Regions from separate parts of the Homo sapiens genome. Here regions 1, 2 and 4 are each linked to region 3. The links are contacts of gene promoters, found by promoter capture Hi-C in blood cells and fetal thymus (Javierre and others, 2016). All regions are on one chromosome and are shown on one strand. Each heading gives the region's core, a stretch centred on a gene start or on the middle of the fragment in contact. The rest is flanking DNA. Distances are from core to core; before and after follow the strand shown.

Evidence for each region. The method cuts DNA at HindIII sites, captures the fragments that hold promoters and counts their contacts. A CHiCAGO score of 5 or more calls a contact.
Region 1: a fragment that was not itself captured here is called in contact with the fragment with the promoter of GNS in region 3 in 3 of 17 cell types (total CD4 T cells, non-activated CD4 T cells and neutrophils); the score reaches 6.6 in total CD4 T cells.
Region 2: a fragment that was not itself captured here is called in contact with the fragment with the promoter of GNS in region 3 in 1 of 17 cell types (neutrophils); the score reaches 6.5 in neutrophils.
Region 4: a fragment that was not itself captured here is called in contact with the fragment with the promoter of GNS in region 3 in 5 of 17 cell types (neutrophils, naive CD8 T cells, total CD8 T cells and 2 more); the score reaches 9.6 in neutrophils.

Annotation. Positions count from the first base shown.
Region 1 is chr12:64,524,929-64,527,947 of GRCh38, reverse strand. All of the region lies in intron 3 of LOC105369803 (a long non-coding RNA gene), which reads left to right. It also overlaps a transcript of RASSF3 not described here. Among named protein-coding and RNA genes, the nearest start is that of TBK1, 74 kb to the right of the region's middle. The HindIII fragment of the contact is 4,446 bases long and covers 1-3,019 here.
Region 2 is chr12:64,597,302-64,600,288 of GRCh38, reverse strand. RASSF3-DT (RASSF3 divergent transcript) reads left to right here. Exons shown (of 2, transcript NR_187549.1): 2 at 1,073-1,211. It also overlaps a transcript of RASSF3 not described here. Among named protein-coding and RNA genes, the nearest start is that of RASSF3-DT, 11 kb to the left of the region's middle. The HindIII fragment of the contact is 5,723 bases long and covers 1-2,987 here.
Region 3 is chr12:64,758,125-64,761,327 of GRCh38, reverse strand. GNS (glucosamine (N-acetyl)-6-sulfatase) reads left to right here and starts at 1,922. Exons shown (of 14, transcript NM_002076.4): 1 at 1,922-2,243. The coding sequence starts at 2,052. LOC124903113 (small nucleolar RNA U13) reads left to right here and starts at 355; the gene lies at 355-460. It also overlaps a transcript of TBC1D30 not described here. RefSeq lists an enhancer at 2,496-3,203. The HindIII fragment of the contact is 13,978 bases long and covers 311-3,203 here.
Region 4 is chr12:64,506,498-64,509,665 of GRCh38, reverse strand. LOC105369803 (a long non-coding RNA gene) reads left to right here. Exons shown (of 4, transcript NR_188079.1): 4 at 2,191-3,168. It also overlaps a transcript of RASSF3 not described here. Among named protein-coding and RNA genes, the nearest start is that of TBK1, 56 kb to the right of the region's middle. The HindIII fragment of the contact is 2,742 bases long and covers 1-2,698 here.

The DNA of each region.
Region 1 (3,019 bases), core at 49-2,548, 230 kb after region 3:
TTATTTATTTTTTGAGACAGAGTGTCGCTTTGTCACCCAGGCTGGAGTGCAGTGGCTTGATCTCAGCTCATTGTAACCTCTGCCTCCCAGGTTCAAGCAATACTTGTGCCTCAGCCTCCCAAGTAGCTGGGATTACAGCCATGTGCCACCATGCTCAGCTAATATTTGTATTTTTAGCATAGATGGGATTTCACCATGTTGGCCAGGCTGGTCTCAAACTCCTGGCTTCAAGTGATCTGCCCACCTTGGCCTCCCAAAATGCTGGGATTACAGGCATGAGCCACCACACCCAGTTGCTGGTATCAATTTTAATGTTTTAAAAATGTAATCGTATATCAAATAATTCCCCAGGCATCACTTTTTAGGATGATGCTAAAAAAGGGGGTAAGGTACTTAGTAAAAATACTAGTAGGGAGTTATGCATGTATGGCAAAAATTGTGAAGATAGCCTGTGAATGACATTTGGGAAACACTGGATTGGGCAGGAAATGAGAGCTATCATTTATTGTGCACTTACTGTGTGCCATATTAGTGTACTTTATATGCATTAATTTATTTAATTCTTAAAACATCCCCAAGGAATAGGTACTGTCGTTATCTTCTGTTTTTTATGGAAGAGGACACTGGGGTACTGAAGGGTTAAGCTGCTTTCTTACAGTCATCTGCCAACACATGGCAGGACCAGGTTCTAACCTCAAGCCCTGTTCTTAGTCCGGTTCTCTGCTGGAGACCTTGATTGATTGTGAAGGACTCACTGGGACTCAATGATAGGATTCTGCAATTCAGCAGTTCTCAGAGGAGGACAGCATGAGCTTCAGCTGGGTAACTTGTTAAACTGCAGGTTCACTGAATCCCCACGTTCATTGCACCACCATTCACAGTAGCCAAGATAATCAACTTAGCTGTCCATGGACAGATGAATTAATCAAGAACATGTGGTATATGTACATGGTGGAACACTATTCAGCCTTTTAAAAAAAGGATTCTGCCATTTGTGATTGTGTAGATAAATGTGGAGAAGTTCAGTGCAATAAGCCAGGCACAGAAAGACAATTACCACATGTTCTCACTTCTATGTGGAATTTAACAAAGTTGAACTCAGGGCCAGGTGCAGTGGCTCACGCCTGTAATCCTAGCACTTTGGGAGGCTAAGGCAAGAGGATCACTTGAGGCCAGGAGTTCAAGACCAGCCTGTGCAACATAGTGAGACTCTGTCTCTACGAAAAGTTTTAAAAAGTTATCCAAGCAACGTGGCATGTGCCTATAGTCCCAGTTACTCAGTAGGCTGAGGTGGGAGAATTGCTTGAGCCCAGGAGTTTGAGGCTGCAGTGAGCTATGATCACACCACTACACTACAGCTTGGGCGACAAAGCAAGACCCTGTCTTTAAAAAATTTAAAAAAAAAACAACTCATTTTTTAAAAAGTTTTGTACTCACAGAGGTAGAAAGTAGAATAGTGGTTACCAAAGGCTGGGGGTTGGGAGGGGTTAGGGGAGATATTGGTCAAAGGACACAAAATTTCACCTAGACAGAAGGAATAAGTTTGAGAGCTCTATTGTACAACATAGTGACTATAGTTAGTAACAATGTATCCTATACTTGAAAATTGCCAAGTAGATTTTAAGTGTTCTCACCACAAAAAAATAAGTATATGAGACAATGCATATATTAATGAGGTTGATTTAACCATTCCGCAATAAGTACATATTTCAAAACATCATGCTGTATACCATAAATACATATGTATATAAGTTTTATCTGTCAATTAAAAATAAGAAGTAAATAAAAATGTAGATACATAGTCCCTTCTCCAGAAATCCTGGCCCTTACATTGTCCGAGTGTGGGAAAGCAGTATGAATAATCACCCCAGATAGTTCTGAGGTGGGTGGACCTGCAGTCTCATAGTGAGAAATGAAGGCAATTCTAGGAATCGTTAGAATAATGAGTTCTATTTGGGAGATGAGCTCACTACAGACATCTCTCCCTGTTCACCTGGCTTGTCACTCCCACTTGAGACTCTTTGCAGCCTTTGGGACGGAGGTAACGTGCTGATGATGTGCCTCTTTCAATACTGTCTTTCACACGCATCACAGTAGCAGCGAGGAATCAAATGGCCTTTATTCTCGTCTATTCTGACAGTAGATCTATATGCTTCTGATCACACTACAGTAATATAAGAAACTCCAAAGCAGAGAGCAAAAAAAAAAGTAGACTTTGAAAATGAAATGTTGAAGCAAACAAATTCTGGGTCTGCAGGAATTTCGCCCACGCTCACCACTGCCACCTGCCAGCCCATTTTCCCATTCCGCAGCCAAGGCTCATTATGATCTTAAGTAGGCCAATGAGATGGAACTGAAAAAGGCTGAAAATGAAGTGGGAGAATGCGTATGACTGTTCATATGAGACAATGAGGAGAAGAGCTGCCTGACCCAGGCATGGCTTTGCCAGTCAGGCCTGCTAAAAGGAGATGGGGGGAAAACAAAAGGAAAAATAAGTGAGGATGCTTTCATAGCATCTAAAAAGAAGGAAGCAGTCTTCTAGTTATAGTCCCCCTCAGACCCACAATCTTGAAACCAGATTTTAAGACATACACAAATATCTGCAATTCAGAGTAGAAAATGGCAATGAGCATCACAAAAGTAGTTCAAATATTTTCTTTTTTTATTTTTCTTGACACGGAGTCTCACTCTATCGCCCAGATGGAGTACAATGGTGCAATCTTGGCTCACTGCAACCGCGGCTTTCCAGGTTCAAGTGATTCTCCTGCCTCAGCCTCCCGAGTAGCTGGGGTGACAGGCACACGCCACCACGCCTGGCTAATTTTTGTATTTGTAGTAGAGATGGGGTTTCACCATGTTGGCTATGCTGGTCTCAAACTCCTGACCTCGGGTGATCCACCTGCCTCGGCCTCCCAAAGTGCTGGGAGTACAGGTGTGAGCCACTGTGTCCGGCCACTACAAATATTTTCAAAGAGCTGTAGAGCAAGTTTGATGAGCAAATGAAAGAAAATATTTTCAC
Region 2 (2,987 bases), core at 487-2,986, 160 kb after region 3:
TGAGATGGATTTCCCATGCTGCCCAGCCTGGTCTGGAACTCCTGGATGTAAGCAATCCTGCCTCTACCTCCAAAGGTGCTGGGATTACAGATGCATGCCACTGTGCCTGGCTAGTTGTTTGTTTGTTTTTTTAACTTCTGAGATATTTTTTCTAGAAAAGACCCCTCAGATAAGGAAAAAAGATTAATTCATTGAACATTTTTTGACCTCTTACTGTGTATCAGGCACTATTCTTTTTTTTTTTTTTTTTTTTTTGAGATGGAGTCTCTCTCTCTCTCGCCCAGGCTGGGGTGCAGTGGCGCGATCTTGGCTCACCGCAAGCTCCGCCTCCTGGGTTCACGCCATTCTCCTTCCTCAGCCTCCCGAGGAGCTGGGACTACAGGCGCCCGCCACCACGCCCGGCTAATTTTTTGTATTTTTAGTAGAGACGGGGTTTCACCGTGTTAGCCAGGATGGTCTCGATCTCCTGACCTCGTGATTCACCCGCCTCAGCCTCCCAAAGTGCTGGGATTACAGGCGTGAGCCACCGCGCCCGGCTTATCAGGCAGTATTTTGAGCGCTCCTAAACTCATTTAATCCTCCTAACACTTCTCATCTTCCCCTGGAAGCGTGGCATAGACTTTACAACGGCAAGCGGCAAGGCAGCCCGAGCTCCCACGTTCACCCTCCTGATCACTACACTACACAGCCTTCGGGCTCAGCCAACCTAGGGTGAGAGGAGTGTCAGACAACTTCAGAGGAAACCACAAGGGTTTCCAGCCACAAATGATTTGCAGTGAATTGATTTGAAATATGTTATTAGAGAGTGTCTTTGTGTGACAGAGATTGTATTCGAGGTTTTTAAATGAGAGAAAAGATTATTTTTATTCAATTGTCTGGGACATTGAACTTTCCAACATTGATTTTGATCAGTCCTTGCAATTAATTTGTGCTCCCTACCCCCACGCTTCTGCTAAGGGCTTTTAGCCATCTATCCCTTAGTTTGAATACAGGTAGGGAGATCCTGAACTTTTTTTGCCATGAGGCATTGACCATGATTATGACCCATCCATAGTGATATTATGTCTTACAGGGGCTTCTAGAAGCAGAGCTGAGGCTGGGAGATTAATGCTGTCCTCAAAGTGAAGAGTCACCACTACTTGTCAAGTCATGTCATCTCTGCAGCCACGTGCATTTTGTAAACTGGGAAGAATAAACAGACATTTCTGACATTTTTGCTTGAGATTTAACCTCAGCGCGTCAAGAGATAGAGAGGGGAACAGAAATAAATAAAATGTGGCTAAATAAGGACTGTTTATCACAAACACAAGGCAGAGATCTGGTGACCATATCTGACTTTGAAATCTGTGTCTCCAGGAAGAGGAACATCACACACCAGGGCCTGATGTGGGGTGGGGGGAGGGGGGAGGGATAGCATTAGGAGATATACCTAATGTAAATGACGAGTTAATGGTTGCAGCACACCAACGTGGTACACGTATACATATGTAACAAACCTGCACGTTGTGCACATGTACCCTAGAACTTAAAGTATAATTTAAAAAAAAAAAAGAAATCTGTGTCTCATGACAACAGCTTTAGGAAAATAGAAATGCTTTTTTGTTCAAGAAAGGCATTCCAGGGAGAAATTGAGCCTTCTTAATAAATACAAGTAAGAGACCTAACAGTGCCCTCAGAATTTCTGTGGAGGCCTTAGTGGTAGCCTAAGCTGGGCTGCATAAATTGTCCATATCAAAGGAAAATTGCTGATGGATATAATTCAGCAATTGTTCTCCCTTGTTCCCTGCTGTGCTATATCCATGCCATAGCTATAGCTACATCCACTCTTTCACTACCTTAAGTACTGAGATCTTATTATATGCATAGCACCATGGAAACTGGGTAAGACATAAAAGAAGAGTTAGATAGATTTCTGGCCTTCAAAACCTTATAAACTAGTTAACGAAAAAAATATTCCCCATAGAACAATTATGTAATGATAACAGACTGTGATTACCCAATCAATAAACCTGTGAAGAATGTGTCAAAATATAAGCCAAAGTCAGAAGAATGTGATAAGATTTGGTCAAGGGCCGGGCAAGGTGGCTCACGCCTGTAATCCCAGCACTTTGAGAGGCCAAAGTGGGCAAGTCACTTGAGGTCAGGAGTTCTAGGTCAGCTTGGCCAACATGGTGAAACCCCATCTCTACTAAAAATACAAAAAAATTAGCTGGGCATGGTGGCTTGTGCCTGTAATCCCAGCTACTCGGGAGGTGTGGAAGGAGAATTGCTTGAACCCGGGAGGCAGAGGTTGCAGTAAACTGAGATTGCACCACTGCACTCCAGCCTGGGTGACAGAGTGAGACTCTGTCTCAAAACAAAATAAATAAAAGATTTGGTCAGGAAGCCTTCAAAGGAGGTGGGATTTAGTTTGATTCTTAAAGGAGAAGGATACGTAAGAGGAATAGAATAGGAAGTTCAGGGAGAAGACAGGTCACTAGCAAAAACTTAAGCACAATCTATTTGCCTGCTAAATCAAACACTTAAAATAGGCTAGGTGTGGTTGGCGCATGCCTGTAATCCCGGCACTTTGGGAGGCTAAGGTGGGTGGATCACCTGAGGTCAGGAGTTCGAGACCAGCCTGGGCAACATGGTGAAACCCCATCTCTACTAAAAATACAAAAATTAGCCAGGCGTGGTGGTGCACGACTGTAAATCCCAGCCACTAGGAAGGCTGAGGCAGGAGAATCACTTGAACCTGGGAGGGAAAGGTTGCAGTGAGCTGAGATTGTGACACTGCACTCCAGCCTGGGCAATAGAGCGAGACTCTGTCTCAAAATAAAAATAAAAATAAAATAAATAAAATAAAAAATAAAATAGGCCGGGTGCCATGGCTCATGCCTGTAATCCCAACATTTTGGGAGGGTGAGGCAGGTGGATCACGAGGTCAGGAAATTGAGACCAGCCTGGCCAACATGGTGAAACTCTGTCTCTACTAAAAATACAAA
Region 3 (3,203 bases), core at 673-3,172:
CAAAGTGGGCAACTAATTACACAATTTCTGGCCTCAAATAGTTTATAATCTAACCTTGAAAAAAATAGAAAAGAAACAATTTTACAATTTGGGGCTTCGATACAGATGAAATAGGTTATTTTTTTGTGCAAGAAAGTCTTCCTGGAAGTCTTGAAACCTGAATACAGAAGGATTAGTTATTCTAACCAGCTTGAAAAATTGGCCTAGGCCAAGGCTGTAACCAAGTATTCTGGTTGTCTAGGAACTGCTCTGACCACACTTCCGGCATAATTGTTTCTTGCAGAAAAACTACTTCAGTTTTTTTAAAGCTTCTTTTGCCTTCTGTAGGCTTACTTAAAAAAAAAAAGTATTAAGATCCTTTTGTGGTTCATAAGCCTGATGATTGGGTTTTCATGCTATTGTGTGAGTTACCACCCCTACCTCAAACCTTGTTAGGACTCCGCGCATTACCCCTCTGTGTGAAAAAAACAAAGTAATAAAGGTAATTTTTTTTTTTTTGCATAAGCCCTATCCTTGTACACATCAGGTTTCAACGTGTTTCCATCATTATTTTTACCTTATAGTATAGTGTTTTCACGAGTTTTTTTTTTTAATACTTTAAGTTCTGGAATAGTTTTCACGAGTTTTAAGAGACTCTTCTTGGCAAACAGTTCAACTCAGAGAAAATACTTTTACCAGCAAGGAGGTATACCTTGTTATATCGGTCTGGGGATGTGACTTGACAGTTCACCTTGCCAGGAATATCTCTGTGATTTTTTGTTTGTTTGTTTGTTTTGAGACAAGAGTCTCGCTCTGTCCCTGAGGCCAGAGTGCAGTGGCTCACTGCAAGCTCCGCCTCCCGGGTTCAAGCGATTCTCATGCCTCAGCCTCCCGAGTAGCTGGGATTACAGGCGCCTGCCACCACGCCCAGCTAATTTTTGTATTTTAGTAGAGACGGGGTTTCCCCACGTTGGCCAGGCTGGTCTAAAACTCCTGACCTCAGGTGATCCACCCGCCTCCCAAAGTGCTGGGATTACAAGCGTGAGCCACCGCGCCCACGGTGGGCGGTGAGAGGAGAGGGGCAAAGTCTAATTATTCCAGAGCGACCACAGAAATATCTGGAGCTAGTTTCAAGGGCTATTCCCCGCTAAAGATTACTTAATAATGCAGTTGGATGACCACGTTTCAAGATTTTTGTTCGATCTGCACATCCTCCAACATGTTCCAAGAGGGTGTTTAAAAAGTCACCAAGGACCATTAGGATAACCATTAGGATAAAGCTGTCAGGACATCCCTAAATTGTTTGAAACTACGATGTCTGCTGAGGAAAGAAGAACATAATTAGGCTTTGGAGTTAAGAGAGCTAACCAGTTCCGAATTTAATGTCTGAGCCAAATGAGAATGTTAAGATTTATCTCACAAGTTGTAGAGAAAATTAAAAACGATTAAACATCCGGGCCTTGAATAAGTGCCCGTCGACTTGGGGATTAAATATGGTAGAGTCCACTTTCCTCACCAGCTGATGATAATTTCTGTTATGTACAGTCCTCCTTTCTCTTCCTTTATCGGTTGGTTAGTATTTGCCAACTCTTTCCTGCTTTTCATCTTCTCTTCCCCCCATTTAAATCTTTCCACCAAGCGCTCAGAAACACGTACGTCCTACCAGAACGCAACCCGAGCCTGCGCGAGAGGTACGTACAGGTCTTGACCTTTTCCCGGTTCTCCGCCCTTTTCCCGGTTCTCCGCCCTTTTCTCCGGTTCTCCGCCCTTTTCTCCGGTTCTCCGCCCTTTTCTCCGGTTCTCCGCCCCTTTTCCGCCACTGCCTGATGCCTCCCTCCAGGCTGCGCCAGTCCGCAGCCCCGCCCACGCCGGCCGTCACGTGACCGCGCAGCGTGCTCCGCCCCCTGTCCCTGGCTCACGTGATCGCGCCTAGGGAGAAAACGTCTGACTCCAGCCACCGGCCTTCAAGGCACGGCTTTTTATTCCTTCGGCTGGTCGGCCTCTCGCCCTTCAGCTACCTGTGCGTCCCTCCGTCCCGTCCCGTCCCGGGGTCACCCCGGAGCCTGTCCGCTATGCGGCTCCTGCCTCTAGCCCCAGGTCGGCTCCGGCGGGGCAGCCCCCGCCACCTGCCCTCCTGCAGCCCAGCGCTGCTACTGCTGGTGCTGGGCGGCTGCCTGGGGGTCTTCGGGGTGGCTGCGGGAACCCGGAGGCCCAACGTGGTGCTGCTCCTCACGGACGACCAGGACGAAGTGCTCGGCGGCATGGTAACTCTTCTGTTTCTGCCCCGCCCCTCTATCTCTTGGGCTGACTACCCGGTTTGTTGCTCTCTTTCCCGGTCCCCACCACCCTCCTCCCCGAACTGGCTGTCTTATCCTTGGGTAGGTTTGGTTTTCCCACCTGAGGCCCTTTATGCCGGTGTAAGGGACTGCAATACTCTTTTCCTTTCTGGATTGAGGCACATGCGTACAGCACACAGAGCTTCTAGTCTGGACCGTACTGCTGTGGAGTTTACGTTAATATCTCAAGATAAACATGTGGAGACCAGTGGAGGATGGGTTGAACCAATGAGGATCAGGTGCTGTCTAAGAGCACTCAAGGCCTGATTGTTTTTCTTTTGGATTAGAGGATCACAGACAAGTCCAGTCCCCTTTATGAGGGACCTAGACCACCTCCACGTTTGTGCCTGTATACAATGTCTGTATCTGATGTCAATAAAAATAAGCCTGGGCCGGGCGCGGTGTGTCACTCATGTAATCCCAGCACTTTGGGAGGCCGAGGCGGGCGGATCAGAAGGTCAAGAGATCGAGACCATCCTGGCCAACATGGTGAAACCCCGTCTCTACTAGAAATACAATAATTCTAGCTGGGCGTGGTGGCGCGCAGCTGTAGTCCCAGCTACTTGGGAGGCTGAGGAAGGAGAATCGCTTGAACCCGGGAGGCAGCAGTTGCAGTGAGCCGAGATCGCGCCACTGCATTCCAGCCTGGCGACAGAGCGAGACTCCGTCTCCAAAAAAAAAAAAAAAAAAAAAAAAAAAAAAAGGCCTGAAGTGAACTAATCTGGTAGGCCGACCGTCGAACTATTGAGGGTGTGTGTTGCCTCACAAGAATCAAGAAAATTCAATTAGTGTGATTGAACACCTGACTGTTGCATTAGAGACTGTCAGTGTTTCATTTTCTATCTAATGGGTGTTGTCACAAGACTTCATTTTTTTTCCAGAGTAAAT
Region 4 (3,168 bases), core at 78-2,577, 250 kb after region 3:
TCTACTGATGAAGGCTATAAGTAAAATATTCAGTGAGGGCTCGTATGTTCACATTCTGTTACTTACTCACCATTGCTCTGTGGTGTGATAAAAAGAGCAGCAGACCAAGAATTAGATAATCTGGGATAAAGCTCTGGTTCTGCCTATGTAATAGTTTTGGGAGGTTAAGGTATCTAACCTTCTGGAGGCAGTTTGCTCATCTTATTTTTATTTTTTGAGGCTGAGTCTTGCTCTGTCGCCCAGGCTGGGGTGCAGTGGTTCCATCTTAGCTCACTGCAACCTCCACCTCCTGGGCTCAAGCGATTCTTCTGGCTCAGCCTCCCAAGTAGCTGGGATTATAGGCACCCACCACCACACCCGGCTAATTTTTGTATTTTTAGTAGAGACAGGGATTCGCCATGTTGGCCAGGCTGGTCTCAAACTCCTGACCTCAAGTGATCCACCCACCTTGGCCTCCCAAAGTGCTGGGATTACAAGCATGAGCCACCGCCCCTGGCCTTTTTGCTTATCTTTAAAATGAAGCAATTGGTGAAGATGATTTTTCTTAAGTTCTTTTGGGGCTCTAACTTCCCAAATTATGTTAATCCATATCTGAAGAATGGTACATATAAACAGAGACTTAAACGATTAAGTTAAATTCTCCCTATTTTGACAGTGAGAATGAAAAAAAATTAAAGAAAAAATGGAAGATTGAAATGTCCTAGGCCTTATATTTTATAAATTTCTTTTTTTTTTAAATGAATTGCATGGTTTTGTTTTTGTTTTTGTTTTTGTTTTTTGAGACGGAGTTTCACTCTTGTTGCCTAGGCTGGAGTGCAATCGCACAATCTCGGCTCACCGCAACCTCCACCTCCTGGGTTTTCGAGCAATTCTCCTGCTTCTGCCTCCCGAGTAGCTGGGATTACAGGCATGTGCTACCACACCCAGCTAATTTTGTATTTTTAGTAGAGACAGGGTTTCTCCATGTTGGTCAGGCTGGTCTTGAACTCCCGACCTCAGGTGATCTGCCCGCCTCGGCCTCCCAAAGTGCTGGGATTACAGGCATGAGCCGCCGCGCCCGGTCTGCATGCTTTTAAATAAATGTCTTAATCATATACCTGCCTTGGTGATTATAGATCATAGTCACTTCTGTTTTTTGTTTTTTTTTTGAGACGAAGTTTAGCTCTTGTTGCCCAGGCTGGAGTACGGTGGCATGATCTTGGCTCACTGCAACCTTCGCCTCCCAGGTTCAAGTGATTCTCTTGCCTCAGTCTCCTGAGTAGCTGGGATTACAGGCACCAGCCACCATGCCCGGCTAATTTTTTTGTATTTTTAGTACAGACAGGTTTTCACCATGTTGGCCAGGCTGGTCTCGAACTCCTCACCTCAGGTAATGCATCTGCCTCGGCCTCCCAAAGTGCTGAGATTACAGGTGTGAGCCACGGTGCCCAGTCGTCACTTGTTTTTAAAGGAGGATCTGGCACTGGATAATCTAGCACATCATCAGATTATGTTTGATAATGTATCAAACACATAATACATCTTAAGTAATTGTTAAGCACTTACATAAAATTCTGAGCTACATGGGTGTGAAAGAAACATAATGAGAATTTTGATTCAGTTGCAAGATGAAACATTATGAAGTGAGAGAATTGGCTTACAGTAGTGTGAGTAGTACAACCAGTGCTGCAGAGTATGAAGGTGAAAGCTGGGCTCCTGCAGGAACTTCAGATACCAGACTTGGAGGGGTCATCTACTCCCTTTAACCCCCTCTCCTCTGACCCTTGCATATTCCAGTCAGGCAGGACTGGACAGAAAAGGCAGGGCTTTATATGGTAGCAAATATAAGGTGCTTTAAATTCTCACATCAATAAATACCTAAAATATGATGCATAAACTGACCCAAATAAAAGAGATTTAAGGCCCACTGACCTTTTTAGTTTTCTATGGAAAGGAGGGGAACTCACTGTGACTTATTTTTTGTGTTCTGTTTATTCTAAGATGTTTTAGTACTAAGACAAGTTAAGAGTCCCTGAGAATAAGAGCTGTTTTTGTTGTTTTTAAATACTAAACATTCTCCATCTCTCTTTAGTCAACTTTTCGGAATCAAAATGCCTAAAAAGCATACAATTGGATTGTAACAATGTTCATGGCTTCTAATACATCAGCCTCAAAATGCTTAATTTTATTTTCTCTCAATTTTCCCTCCAGATGACCAAGTGGAATACCTTTTAAAGGCTTCAAGACTTTTCTTTCCCACTCCTCCCTGCCCATGCGAGGGAGGCTCCATTTTAAAATGTAACACACACACACAAAAAAACGGATTTGAAATAAGGCATTAGCCTGAGGTAACTTACCCCCACCTTGGCTCCAGAGCAGCTTGGATTTCCGATTCTTTGAGCAGGTCAGTGATTTGGGGAACCAGTAAAAGAGCCGGGCTATTCTTCTGAAGGTCTCATGAAAGTCACTTCTTATGGCCATAGCGAGAACCAGGAGTGTTCCAGAATGACTCGCTACAGAGAGCATGGATGAGGAGCACAGTAACACCCACATATGACACTTTAGCTGTGAACTGCCTTTCAGCCAATATGTCTGGGGACCACCTGTTAGCCCTAAATCCCCTTCCTCTGTCATTCTTTTGGCTTGTCCTTTAGACCTTGGCCCTCATAACTAGAAACTGTATTAATAGATGTTCTTTCTAAAGAAAGAGTTTTAAGCTTTCTTAAGAGAAGCTCTAACCTAATGCAACACTTGGTAATTTTCAAGCATGGACCTCCTGACCTCGTTCATAAAAACACAATTTTTTCATAGAGGAGTGAAAAAAAACAGGATCCACTAACTCAACTTCCAACAGAATTGTCAGTGGTAATTTGCAGGACTTAGTGGTGATGGACAAGCAATCTCCTAAAGCCATAGCCTTGATCCCATTTGTTTTGTGCATTTTTACTGGAAAAATGAAACCTATTTGAAACTTTAGCAGGAATTTATCCCAGAAAAAAAAAAATTAGTTCTTATGAGTCAAAAAATGTGTAAAAGGGCCAGGCACAGGGGCTCACACCTGTAATCCCAGCACTTTGGGAGGCTGAGGTGGGAGGATTGCTTGAGCCCAGGAGTTCAAGACCAGCCGAGCCAACAAAGCGAAATGCTGTCTCTAGAAAAAGGAAAAAAAAAGCTGGGCATGGTGGCACG